2 separate regions of the Homo sapiens genome follow, and region 2 is linked to region 1. Evidence: promoter capture Hi-C in 16 types of primary human blood cells and fetal thymus (Javierre and others, 2016). All regions are on one chromosome and are shown on one strand. Each heading gives the region's core, a stretch centred on a gene start or on the middle of the fragment in contact. The rest is flanking DNA. Distances are from core to core; before and after follow the strand shown.

What was found. Contacts are between HindIII fragments. The CHiCAGO score rates a contact against its expected background, and 5 or more counts as called.
Region 2: a contact is called between a fragment that was not itself captured here and the fragment with the promoter of DOCK11 in region 1, in 1 of 17 cell types (activated CD4 T cells). The highest score is 7.6, in activated CD4 T cells.

Annotation. Positions count from the first base shown.
Region 1 is chrX:118,492,546-118,498,853 of GRCh38, reverse strand. It overlaps DOCK11 (dedicator of cytokinesis 11), which reads right to left and starts at 3,039. Exons shown (of 53, transcript NM_144658.4): 1 at 2,781-3,039. The coding sequence starts at 2,882. RefSeq lists silencers at 2,512-2,571, 2,742-2,801, 2,892-2,971, 3,082-3,221 and enhancers at 2,251-3,229, 3,632-3,701. The HindIII fragment of the contact is 5,195 bases long and covers 179-5,373 here.
Region 2 is chrX:118,622,693-118,629,000 of GRCh38, reverse strand. It overlaps DOCK11 (dedicator of cytokinesis 11), which reads right to left. Exons shown (of 53, transcript NM_144658.4): 32 at 4,346-4,462; 33 at 1,422-1,497; 34 at 729-838. Among named protein-coding and RNA genes, the nearest start is that of IL13RA1, 100 kb to the left of the region's middle. The HindIII fragment of the contact is 1,159 bases long and covers 2,331-3,489 here.

The DNA.
Region 1 (6,308 bases), core at 1,790-4,289:
CATCTGAATTTTTCAAACAGTGAGGAAAACTGAATGATGTTAGCAACAGGCCAACAAGGGTGTAATTCCAAAATCCTTAAAAAAAAAATAAAAAAAAAACCTAAACAGGAAATACTGTATATTTGTACAGCTTGGTGGGTTTTCCATGTTCTAACAAGAGATACACCAGAGGAAAGCTTGACTTGCTGCGGTAATGGCTCTAACTCATATTGAAGCCCCAATGTGAGTATCTTGGGTTTATAGCACAAGTGTAAATCCTACCTCAGCTGTCCCTTAAAAGAATCAGAAGTTATGGCAGCAGCTGCAACATGGTCCCCTCACTCTCCAGCCACTCGTGGTTTTACTAACTTTGGTTAACAGCTCTTTGTGAGAGAGAGTCATTTAGGAGCATACATTCCATGTAAGAACTATTTCCTTATTTTTTCGTTGACTAAACTGCTTACAAATAGCATTTGCTAAGGCTCTATGAAGAATCTAAACTTGATTTGTGTGCATAATCTGGGTGTCCTATTGACAAAGACATTCCCATACACACAACCAACCCAGATTGTAAATAATGAAAACAAATGAAGAAAAAGATCATTTGCATTCTCATAATTATAGAGCATCTAGCATTGTGTGTGGCACATTGTAAGGGCTCAATAGATATTCATTGATTTAGATTACTAGAATCTGTTCTCCCTCACTCCCAAAATCTCAATGTGGTTCACATACTAGAGTAATGAGTAAATATTCCTCTGCATTGCCTGGTGTAAACGGTAAAAATCAATGACCTTGGTCCCAAGTAAGCTGGGCTGACAAGGGAACCATGGCCACTGCCAGCGTCTCCTAGAAAAGACTCCTGCCAATAACAGTTTTTCCTCCTTCGCCATAGAATCAATGGTCAGGAAGGAGCCGCTGAACCTACAATGCACAAAATTCTTTTGAAAACCTAAAAACAGGGGAAAGAATGCTAATGTTAACTTTTTGCTGCTAGGGTGGCAGGTCAAGTGCTGATCAAATCCCAGTGGAAGTTTTCTTAGTCCCATTTATTCTCGAGAAATCTGGCCACCTACAGCTTTCTTCACGTGTTGTGGTAGAAGGCCAGCCAACCCCGCTCAAGGAAGGTTTTTTGTTTTCTCTGAATTTAGGAAAGCGTTCTCTGCTAGGTAGATTGAATCACGTGTTAACAATCACCCAAGATGAGAGCCCTGGTATAAATGCTCTGCACACAGCTTGCCTTCCTCTCTTAACTGGCTGTGATGACAGGCAAGGCTCCAATCTGACCTCAACAGGTCCTCACTCCAAAATCAGACTGAAATACACAAGCCAAGTCCATTAAAGTAACATTAAAGGTCTGGATTTAGCTCCACTAAACAGCAGAATTAAACTTTCAAGGGTCTAGCCACAATAAAGAGATTTCTTTAAAGTCACTTAGGTTTGCACAGTTGTAGCTATTAGGGATCAGATCTTTATCTCAAAGGTACATAGTTTACCTTTGATCCTCCTCCAGAACTCCCACTAATGTCAACTTTCTCCACTGTTGGGATCAAGCCCCTGGCCTCCCTTTAATGCTGGGTTTTATTGCTGATTCTACAAGATCAACAGAAAAATTACAAGGAAAAGCTGTGAAGTTCCCTTCCGATGACAAGTTGTTTTAACAAAAAGAGCCCTCTCTTAAACGGTGAAATTTAAACACAGCAAACGACTCGCTGTAAAATGGAGCTGAGGGAGACAAAAACAAACAAAAACAACAACCAAAAAACAAAGTAACAAAACAAACACTAATTAATCAGTCCGATTGCTTATTCAGGGTTTGTTCGCTTGTCCAGGAAACTGGCAACGAGTGTCTTGAAAACAAGAGAAGGGGCAAGTGCCCGTTAGCACCCTTTAGCCTTTCTCCAGAGTCAGACAATCTGGATAAGGCTGAGGGTGCTCTGGGAGGGTTCCCAGGGAGTCAGCGCGCTTTCGAATCCCCATCCCCCAGTCCTGAGCTGTGGGGCTCTGACCCCAGGTCCTCCATCCCTGGACTGACACACCCAGTCTTCCCCCAAATCCCCACGGCACCGTCCCCTTGGTCCCCTTGCCTCTGGAGCGCTCGCGTGTCCCCGAGGGACACACTCTCCCTGCGGTGGATGACCCTGCGCCCACTCTGTCGCAGAACCCCGTTGTTTCTAATGCCCTTCCTCCGCAGCAGCACCCCTTCAACACCCATCACCACCCTCTCTCCCCAGTTGCAGGAGGAAGTCGCTCTGCTTCCTCTGTTCTCACCGCCAGCCCGAGCTTGGGCGCCCGGGGCTTTCTGGGTGGGGTTCTTTTTTGTGTACACAGTGTGTGTATGTGTGCGCGCGAGAGTGTGTGTGCCAAACGCTCATCGCATCCTTCCGCCTAGGCGGCCTCAGGTGCTCGCGGGAGGGGATCAGGATCTCGTCGTGCCCTTGTCCCCGGCTCTTTGTGCCGAGTCCAGAGCAGCGCGAGGTCAGCTCTTTAGCTCACACCCCCGGCCCCGACCCTGGGTGGGAGCCTCCGCCTCCGCCTCCTCCGCAGCCGTCCGAGCCCGGCTTTTGCCCGTCTGCTTCCATCCCGGCGCACGCCTCCGCCGTGCCGGGCGGCCGGAGAGCTGTCAGCCGGCGCCTGGGACTCGGACCCCGGCCGGCGGCTGCCGGTGCGAAAACTTACTGGAGCGGAGAAAGACAGCGCGCGGCGCACCAAGCGGCCGCACTGGCGCCGTTCCTGCCCCTTCCCGCGTCGCTCCCGCCTGGAGCGCGTCCCCCGGGATGCCCCGTCCCCCGGCCACTCACCAGCACCACGGAGCCCCGCACGGCCTCAGACACGCTCTGCCGGAGCTCAGCCGCCGTGCCAGGCTTGCTGAGCCGTTTGGTGAATTTGCGCACTTCGGCCATGGCAGCGGCGGCGGGCGGGTCTCGGCGGGCGGGCGGACCTCGGCGGGCGGGTGGACTCACTGCCCCGGCCCGCGGCGGCCGCGGCCGCTGCTGCTCCCTCTGTTTACTCGCCGGCCGGCCGGCCACATCGCAGCTCGGCGGCGGCGCGGCTCACGCTGCTCCTCCCTCCCACCTCCCACCCGCTGCTCCTCCCTCGTTCCCTCCTTCCCTCCTTTTCTCGCTCGCTTCGCCCGCTCACTGTCCTGCCCCACGGCGTCGGCGGCGGCAGCTCCCTCCCCTAGAGGGCCCGAGCTCCGATCGCCACCAGCCGAAGCAGGAGGGTGTGTCTGATGGGGAAGGGTGTGTAGAGGGGGAGGGAGAACTGGAGGTGGGGGCGAGGGTCACGAGGGAAGAGGGGGGAAGTGGCTACCGCTCGGGCTCCGCCCGCAGCTGATGTTGCTGGTGCAGCCGCATCCGGGAGGGGAGATCTGGGCTGCTTCTTTTTTTCCGCTTGAGTGGGGAGGGCGGGGTGGGGTGGGGGAACAGAGAGGGGTGATGAAATGTCTCCAAGAGTGGGGCGTGCTCCTCTCCCGCCCTAGTGCTCCTCTCCCGCCTCCGAGCTGCAGTGCCCGCAGGAGGGCTGGAGAACTCTCACGTCCCTCCACCCCGCAAGCCCCCAGGGCCCAGGCGGCTAGGGGCTGGAAAACAACGTGGAGCAGCCGCCTTTTGTGTGCTCCTTGGGGAAGGGTCGCACCAATGTCGAAGGACAGAGAGCTGCTTTCCAGCGTGAGCGGCTCGACTGGGTCCCCCTCCTCGCCCACACCGTTTTCCTACTCAGTTGGCTCACCTAACAGGGGGCAACACTGGGGAGAGAGCATGCTTCTGGAAGTGGGAACTTATTGTGGCGGCACCCCTCGCTCCGTCCCCCACGGGGGAGAGCTGGGTGGTGGAGCCTGAGCCTGTGGCAGGTGATCCCTAGGTCAGCACTGACTGCACCAGGAGTGGGGTGGGGGTGGGCATTAGGATGAGCCTGTGGCAGGTGATCCCTAGGTCAGCACTGACTGCACCAGGAGTGGGGTGGGGGTGGGCATTAGGAAGGCCATCTCCCTGGGTTTGGTGGACTTACCAATCTTATAGTAGCTTTTACAAGTGCCCTGCACTCACCTCTCCATTTCCTATTCATCTCCTTACTCTTTTCAGCTTCCAAGAAATTGTTTTTCCAAGAATCAAAGAACATCTCATAACAGGGTATAAAACGAACATGCTTAAGACAGAAATAGGGACGGGAATCTTGAAGTACTAGTGACCCTGTCAGACCTCCTGAAGTGCAGAGTGAAAGGCTCCACTGATGGTGGCAGTTTTCTATCTGGTTATTTCATTTGTTGAGAGTTTGAAAATGGCCCTCAGTCTGGGGGACCGAGCAGCCCTTCTGAAAGCAGTCCTACCACCACCCATCGGGCACTTTCCCCACCCTCAAAGACCAAACAGTCTTTTAGGGGACTTTATTATGGAAACAAGGGCATGCGTGGTGATGGTTTCTTTGAACCCAGAAAAGGCCAAGTCTCTTCGCAGTAAGCCTATTTCAGCCATCCCATCAGTCTCAATAAAGCATATATGGAGGCTCCTAGAGGGCCTGGGACCTGGAAGTCCTCTAAAGACATTCTGTCACAAATCTTAGTTTTGCACAGTACGTGTAAAATTTGTTAATTGTTGCGTGTAGGCTGATCTCCAAGAATTCATACCCTCTGTTCCATAAATGCCTGTGTGGCTCATGCTGTTGGTTACCACCACAATAGCTATAACACTTTTTGCTTGCAAAGAGAGCCCAGATTTACTTCAGATATAGGGCAGAGCCACAGGGTTTAAGGAAGGCAGGCCCAACTCCAGGTGATGAATCATGACTGATGAAAAAACCATGATAAGCTCCCTCTTATTGACTAGTGGGATGGTCTAGACTCCCAATCGGTTTGGGCCAATAAGATATAAGAGGGAAGTGTGAGAGGAGGGTTCCTGGGAAAGTTTTTCTACCTTGATGAAAAAAAAAGGAGAGAGGCCCAGGCCCCACTTTCTTCCTGAGAGGGATGTTTTCTTGCAATGCTTTGGCCCTTGGCAGCCATATTGCAACCATGAGGCAAGGCCAAGGCAATCTCAGAGAAGCCAATGTAGAATCCAGACAGCATTGAACTGTTGAACCAGGCCTGATACTGCCTACCTCTAGTTCCTTTTTATGTAAGAAAAATAAACCCCTGCAGTTTATGACACGTTTAGATGAATATTCTGTTACTTTCAGCCAAAAGCATTCTTAGTACCACAGGCTCTATGGTAGCCACTGAAGGTGCACAGCATTGAACAAGACAGGCAAGGTCCCTCCTCTCCTGGAGCTCACATGTCAGTGCAAAGAAATGAACATGTTAATTTCAGAAACATAAATGCTATGTAGAGAATTAAGGGGAGTTGATAGAGAGTAACTGGAGTTGGGGACCTAGTTTAAAATAGATGATCAAGAAAAGCTTCTTTGAGGAGGTAAACACTGAGCTGAGTCTTAAAGAAGCAGTCAGCAGAGATCAGCAGGTAGACCATTCCAGGCGACAGAAATGCCAGGAACGAAGGCCTAGAGATGGGGGCAGACTTAGTGTGTTCAAAGACCAAAAAAAGGCCAGTGTGGCTGGAGCGTAGAAGGAAGAAGAGTGGTACAAGATAGAGTAGGAGAAGTAAGCAATTTCTGCAGAGTATTGTGAGCCATGGGAAGCATATGTCACACTGATGGTGCACAAACACCATCTGGCCATTGTGCAGGCTCTATGCTCATTCTTGAGATTGTAGATTTCACTTCTTCTGGTTTAAGACTTCTATTTAAATACATAAACATTGAGCATGGTGCTACACACTGAGGGAGAATGCAGTATGAATTAAAGACACTATTTCCTTCTGGGAAAAAAAAAAGAAAGTCTAGTAGAGAATGTATTTATGGTACAAAGTAGTATGTGATACAGACCATACTCAAGGTAAAGAGGCAGGAGAGGCCGAGCGCGGTGGCTCATGCCTGTAATCCCAGCACTTTGGGAGGCCGAGGTGGGTGGATCACCTGAGGTCAGGAGTTCGAGACCAGCCTAACCAACATGGCAAAATCCGTCTCTACTAAAAATACAAAAATTAGCCAGGTATGGTGGCAGGCACCTGTAATCCCAACTACTTGGGAGGCTGAGGCAGGAGATCACTTGAACCCGGGAGGCAGAGATTTCACTGAGCCAAGATTGCACCATTGCCCTCCAGCCTGGGCAAGAAGAGTGAGACTCCATCTCAAAAAAGAAAAAAGAAAAAAAAAAGGCAGGAGAGATCATATCTTCTTAGGTCTATGAAAGGTTTTCTGGAACAGGGGGTGTTTGAGCATTTGAGCTGGACTTTGCGGAATGGGTAGGATTTGGATATAACTGCACTCACATAGTA
Region 2 (6,308 bases), core at 1,661-4,160, 130 kb before region 1:
ATATAGGAGACAAAGTGCTCATATTAGAAAATCTGGGTTCGAGTATGGTCCTGCCATAGCTGGTTGTTCTAAGTCATAATCCCAATTTTCATTTGTAAATTGAGAGTTGGAATTTATTGTTCTTATAGTCCCTTCTAATATAATTTTATACGATTCAATGATTTTACATAACAACATGGCAAAACTTTACTCGTCTAAAATGAGGTCTTTCTGCCTTAAGGCAGTCACATCTCAAACTTTAATGGTAGGCGTGAAACGACTTGATAGAAGAGTTGGGAGGATATATTCTGATTAAGTGATGCTGGGACCCTAAGATTGTCAATTTTGGGACCTATATTTTTTCCTCCCAAATTAATATCATTACTCTATTACAAAAGAATGAAAGACTGCATTAATCCTGCCAGGATGTGCTTCGTTTTAAATAACAAGGCACATTAGATATTTTAAACTTGAATTTCTCCTCACTAAAATAGCGTGCTAGGGTTAAAGGAGATATTCAGAGTTAGAACTCTTGAGGATGAATGCCTTATTCTCTATAAATAGTTTAAGACATTGAAGTAGCAGCTGCCACTATAGGAAGATACTGCTAAAATATCTAAGAATTATGGGATGCTTTTCGCAGAGCCAGGATGGACTACAGGTGAGTACAGATGCTCATATTTATACTATAAAAAAATTGTTGCAGGCTAATGTGTCACTAGGGTCATCCTATATATTTAAGTTCTTACATTTTCACCAGTGTTGCCCTGATCTGGAAATCCTGTTGCTCCTTCTGGGATGAGGGAACCTCTTGAATCTTCTCTCTTAATTCCATGTCCATTTTGAAAAGACCCATAAGCTGGGGAAAAAAAAAAGTCAAGCCCTTGTTGGCAAGAGGGGGAACTGTCAGAAATATTTAAAAAGTACGGAACTAATTTAAGTAGAGACATTAATGTAGGGAATAGATCTTGGACATCTAAAATGTGAAGTTTATTATATCAAAACACCATAAGAAACCATGTAAAAGTGAAGCAACTTTTCACCTTTCAAAACACTTTAGCATGTACAAAATGACAAGAAATTCCTTGGAAGCCGTAAAATAAAGCCACACAATTTAAAAGACAATTTTATAGACAAGGAAACTTGAGCCCATAGATGGGAGTATCTGGCTTAAAACTGGTGACAGATAAGAAGAGTGGAAACCAGTATTTTTCTCATTATCCTCTATTTTCTCAGTATGCCAAGCTATGTTCTAAATAAGCTTAGACAAGGAAACCTAGGCAAATAAATTTGACTGCAAGTATAAGTCAGATTTTAATTAAACTTTAGTAGAGATCAAGCTATGTATGGTCTTTATTATGAAATATATCAAAAATACTGAGAAGTAGAGGGTACATGTCTAAACACCCACGCAATGTATCATCTCCAAAAGGTTTAATTACCGGTGTCTTTGTCAGTGCTCAGACTCCCTCTATTGGCAGGTGAAGTAAAGCCACATGGAAACTCATCTCTGGATGCCTGTAACAGAATATGATACCTGTGTCATTTAAACAAATTCGTATATAGGATAAGAAATCTGAATTAACAGAATAAAATGTTACATTGATTTTAAACAAAGCTCACTGTGAAAGTCTAAATCAGATACTAGTAATTAGTATTTAGGTGACTCTTTTTTAAAAAAAAAAAGCTACTAGCATACTGTTGTAACCATGACCTCTAGCCAAGTGACATAATTCTAGATAGCTGCAACTGGTACAGCTGCAACTGGTACAGTCTTTTTTGTTTTCGTTTTCTGAGACAGGGTCTTGCTGTGTAGTCCAGGCTAGAGTGCGGTGGCATGATCATAGCTCACTGTAGCCTCAACCTCCTGGGCTCAAGTGACCCTCTCACTTCAGCCTCCAGATTAGCCAGGACTACAGGTATACACCACCACACCCAGCTAATTTTTCATTTTTTTAGAGATGGGGTTTTCCCATGTTGCCTAGGTTGGTCTCAAACTCCTGGACTCAAGTGATCCTCCTGCCTTGGCCTCCCCAAGTGCTGGGATTACAGGCATGTGCCACGGCGCCCAGCCTGGTAAAGTCTTAACATGATTCAGTTCTCCTCCTTAGAACCAGGGCAATGCTAGAAGAAGGTGTGTGACCAGAAGCCCTAGGGAAACTTGAGCTGCAAAGAATACAGAGAAGTGAAATATTTCCAAATAATGCTGTCAAATCTATGTGGAGGGAGCATAAGCATGAGATACTGTATTTGTAAAGTGAGACCAGCCTGACACTCAGGTAGGTGTAGTATCCACATTCAGCCAGTTGACATGACTGGGAGTCACAGGGAAGCAAGCCACTAGAAAAGCTTAAAAGCAACGTCCTCAGGAACACAGGACAGGCATGACAAATTGGCTGTAGCATTTCATAGGGGGAATTTGCAGAGGAAGCTGTAAATGACACAGTTTAACCTGCTACCCAACAATATTACGTGGCCAGCCAAAGTGCAAAGGTGATCTTGGGCCATACAGAACATGGATGGGGGCAGAAGTTAACAGTCCACTGGGCAGACTATAAAGTGTATAATTTGGACATTGTATTTTAATAGGGTTACTGGTAAACTGAAGCATATTTGGAAAAGGGGTGACCACGAAAGCAAAGGGTTTTGGGGACCGGGCACAGTGGCTCATGCCTATAATTCCAGCACTTTGGGAGGCTGAGGCAGGCAGATCACTTGAGGTCAGGATTTCAAGACCAGCTTGGCCAACATGGTGAAACCCCCCGTCTCTACTAAAAGTACAAAAAAAATTAGCCGGGCGTGGTGGCGCATGCCTGTAGTCCCAGCTACTCAGGAGGCTGAGGCAGGAGAATCACTTGAACCCAGGAGGCAGAGATTGCAGTGAGCTGAGATCATGCCACTGCACTTTAGCCTGGGTGACAGACTTAGACTCTGTCTCAAAAAAAAAAAAAAAAAAGTAAAGGATTTGGAATGACAGATTAGTGGAGATATTTGGTGGCTTGGAGAAAAATTTAGAAGGCACAAGTGGAAAGGGTACATTTGGAGGTGGGAACAGATGTGTTTCATGTGTCTCTAGAAGACAAAAGTAAGACCAGTGGATAGAAAACCTTTTAGGTCTAATGTGAGAAGGAATGTTTAAATTATTACAATGGCAAAAGGTTGTTTTGCCAAATAGGAGACTGATCACCTCCAAAGTTCCTTCTAATTCTTAAAATTCTAAGGGGAGCAAAAAAAGCACAGACCAATTGTGATAAACTAAAAGAGTCTCACCAAGAAGTGCTGAAGGAGACTACTAAGGGAAAGGAGAAGCAAAGGAATACAGTTTAGTCCCCAGTGCCTAATATCTTGGAAGTAGAGAATCTTTTGTTCAGTTTAAGTTGAATAAATGTATGAAGCCATACAACAACAGAAAATGTTAAGAACGAAAACACAGCGTTCAAAGGATTTGTGGTGTTCTCTTGGAATTTGTTTTCCAAAGTGCAATCTTTGGACCAGAAGCAGCCAAAAGCTTGTTAGAAATGCATGCTCTCAAGTCCCACCCCAGGTCTATTGAATTAAAATCTGTTGGCTAGGTGTGGTGCCTCACGCCTGTAATCCTAGCACTTTGGGGGCCGTGGTGGGTAGATCACCTGAGGTCAGATGTTCCAGACCAGCCTGGCTAACATGGTGAAACACCGTCTCTACTAAATATACAAAAAAATTAGCCAGGCATGGTGGCGGGCACCTGTAGTCCCAGCTATTCAGGAGGCTGAGGCAGGAGAATCCCTTGAACCCAGGAGGCGGAGGTTGCAGTGAGCCGAGATCACGCCACTGCACTCCAGCCTGGGCGACAGAGCGAGACTCTGTCTCAAAAAAAAAAAAACCTGTTTTAACAAATTCCCCAGGTGATTCATATGCAGATTAAAGTTTGCAAAGCACTGTATTAGGAAAAACAGTGTACATGGAGTAAAAACTGAACTCTTGGCTGGGCACGGTGGCTCATGCCTGTAATCCCAGCACTTCACGGGGCTGAGAGGGGAGGATTCCTTGAGCTCAGGAGTTTGAGATCAGCCTGGGCTGCACAGTGAGACCCTGTCTCTGCTAAAAATGAAAAACATTAGCTGGGCATGGTGGCGTATGCCTGTAGTCCCAGCCACTCGGGAGGCCAAAGCAGGAGGATCACTTGAGCACAGGAGTTTGAGACTACAGTGAACTATGATTGTGCCACTACACTCCAGCCTGGGTGATAGAGCGAGACTCTGGCTCAAAAAAAAAAAAAAAAAAAAAAGTGAACTCTTAAGGTTGAGATCATATAGCATATGACCCCAATTCCAAATGCATTCAATAAAATAGGATAAAACTCCAACAGAAACACATTACTACTTACAGAATTAGGCATGGCTGCACAAGAATACAAGGTATCTCGACCTGCTAATCGCTGTATATTTTCCAAAAGTAGTCCAACAAAGGGGAGGTACAATTGTGCTATTTTGGCTTGTTGGTTCTGAAAAATAATTATTGAAAGCTTAATACGTATATAATATGTATATATTACAAATAAATGGAGTTGGCTTCATATATCAATTTAAAGACTAAAAAGTAGGCTAACATCCATAACAAATTACTGAAGCATGAATCTCTTTATACTTATAGTCTGAAAACTAATTACCACAGAACTTTGTTGGCCTTTGGATTTATCCATGATACAGACTCAAATTACATCCCTCAAACATAATGACATGAAGTAAAAGGTTTTTGTAAAAAATAGAAGTTGGCCTATAAAGCAGATGATATTATTCCTGTTTTTCAGCTCCAGTGAGCGTTGAGCTTCATGAGAGCAGGGACAGTGTCTGTCTTGTTCACTGCTTCATCCCCAATGCCTGGGCACATAGCAGATGGTCAATACATATTAGCTGAAGGAATGAATGAGTAAGTGGAAGAAGTGAAAAAATGGTAAGTTACTGTATTCATTCAGGAAACATTTTTTGCTTCCATTAAAGCTACAATTACAATAATATGAACTTGGTCCCCTAAGTCAATTTTAAGACTTGGGAGATTGATATATTTGTAAATATGTAAATAAAACTGGCCACCAGGGCTCTTAATTAATGTGGTACCTCTTATACAAATTTATTTCTTTCCTCAGCTTATAGACATTCCTCGCCAGATATGTATATACACTCAAATCAGAGAAAATAGTGGCTGTGGTAGCACAAGCATTGCCCTCTATCTTTCATGACTTTAGGAGGTTTTTCTGGAGAATTAGATAAGGCCCTCTAGGGCAAAATGGTCAATATGTAGAATGTAGAAGATTACTGGTCTCTTACTATTGTTTTAGTTTGCATTTACTATTGAGGTTGAACAATTTGTCACGTGTTAATTGGCCATTTGCACTTCATTTGTGAATTTCAAAAACCCTTCCCTTCTTAACAGACTTTCTTCCAACATAGTACCCCGTCAGTAATAGTCTCTACCACCAGAAGATTCTGATTTACCAGGTCTGGACTGGTCCAGATGATGCTGATGTGCATAAATGTTTCAGAACCACTAACCTAGTCCAACTTCCTGCTGAAGGCAGGAATGAATGGCCCTTACATGTATCCTTGACAAATAGTTTTTTAAACTTCTTTAAAACTCAAGCCGTTTCATGGGTTCTATTAGGAAGGTCCTTTATCTGAAATACACTCCTCCTAAGTTCTACCTCCTAGGTATAGCTCTGCCCTTTGGAGCTACAAAGAATAAGTCTATTTCTACTTTTGCATGGCAACCCTTTAAATATGTGAATACAGTTACCATGAATCATCTTAACTCATTCTTTTTTTTTTGAGACTGAGTCTTACTCTGTCACCCAGGTTGGAGTGCAGAGGCACAATCTCAGCTCACTGCAATCTCTGCCTCCTGGGTTCGAGAGATTCTCCTGCCTCAGTCTCCCAAGTAGCTGGGATTATAGGTATCCACCACCACGCCTGGCTAATTTTTGTCCCTTTTTAGTAGAAACAGCGTTTTACTATGTTGGCCAGGCTGGTCTCGAACTCCCAACCTTAGGTGATCCACCCTCCTCAGCCTCTCAAAGTGCTGGGATTACAGGCGTGAGCCACCGCTCCCGGCCTTTTAACTCTCATTACTTTCCTTTGTTCCATGACTTTGGTGTCAAGATTTTTCACTTAGTGATTACCCTTTTTCTGGTGGTTCTCTAATTTTTCAATGTCCCAAGTTGAGATTTAAAAGGCAGTATAGCTAGTGGCTGACAGCACAGATTTTGCAGTTAGAGACATGCGCAAAACCCAGCTCTCCCATTACTAGCTACTTGATTACAATCAAGTCACTTAACTACAGTTTTCTCTTTGGTA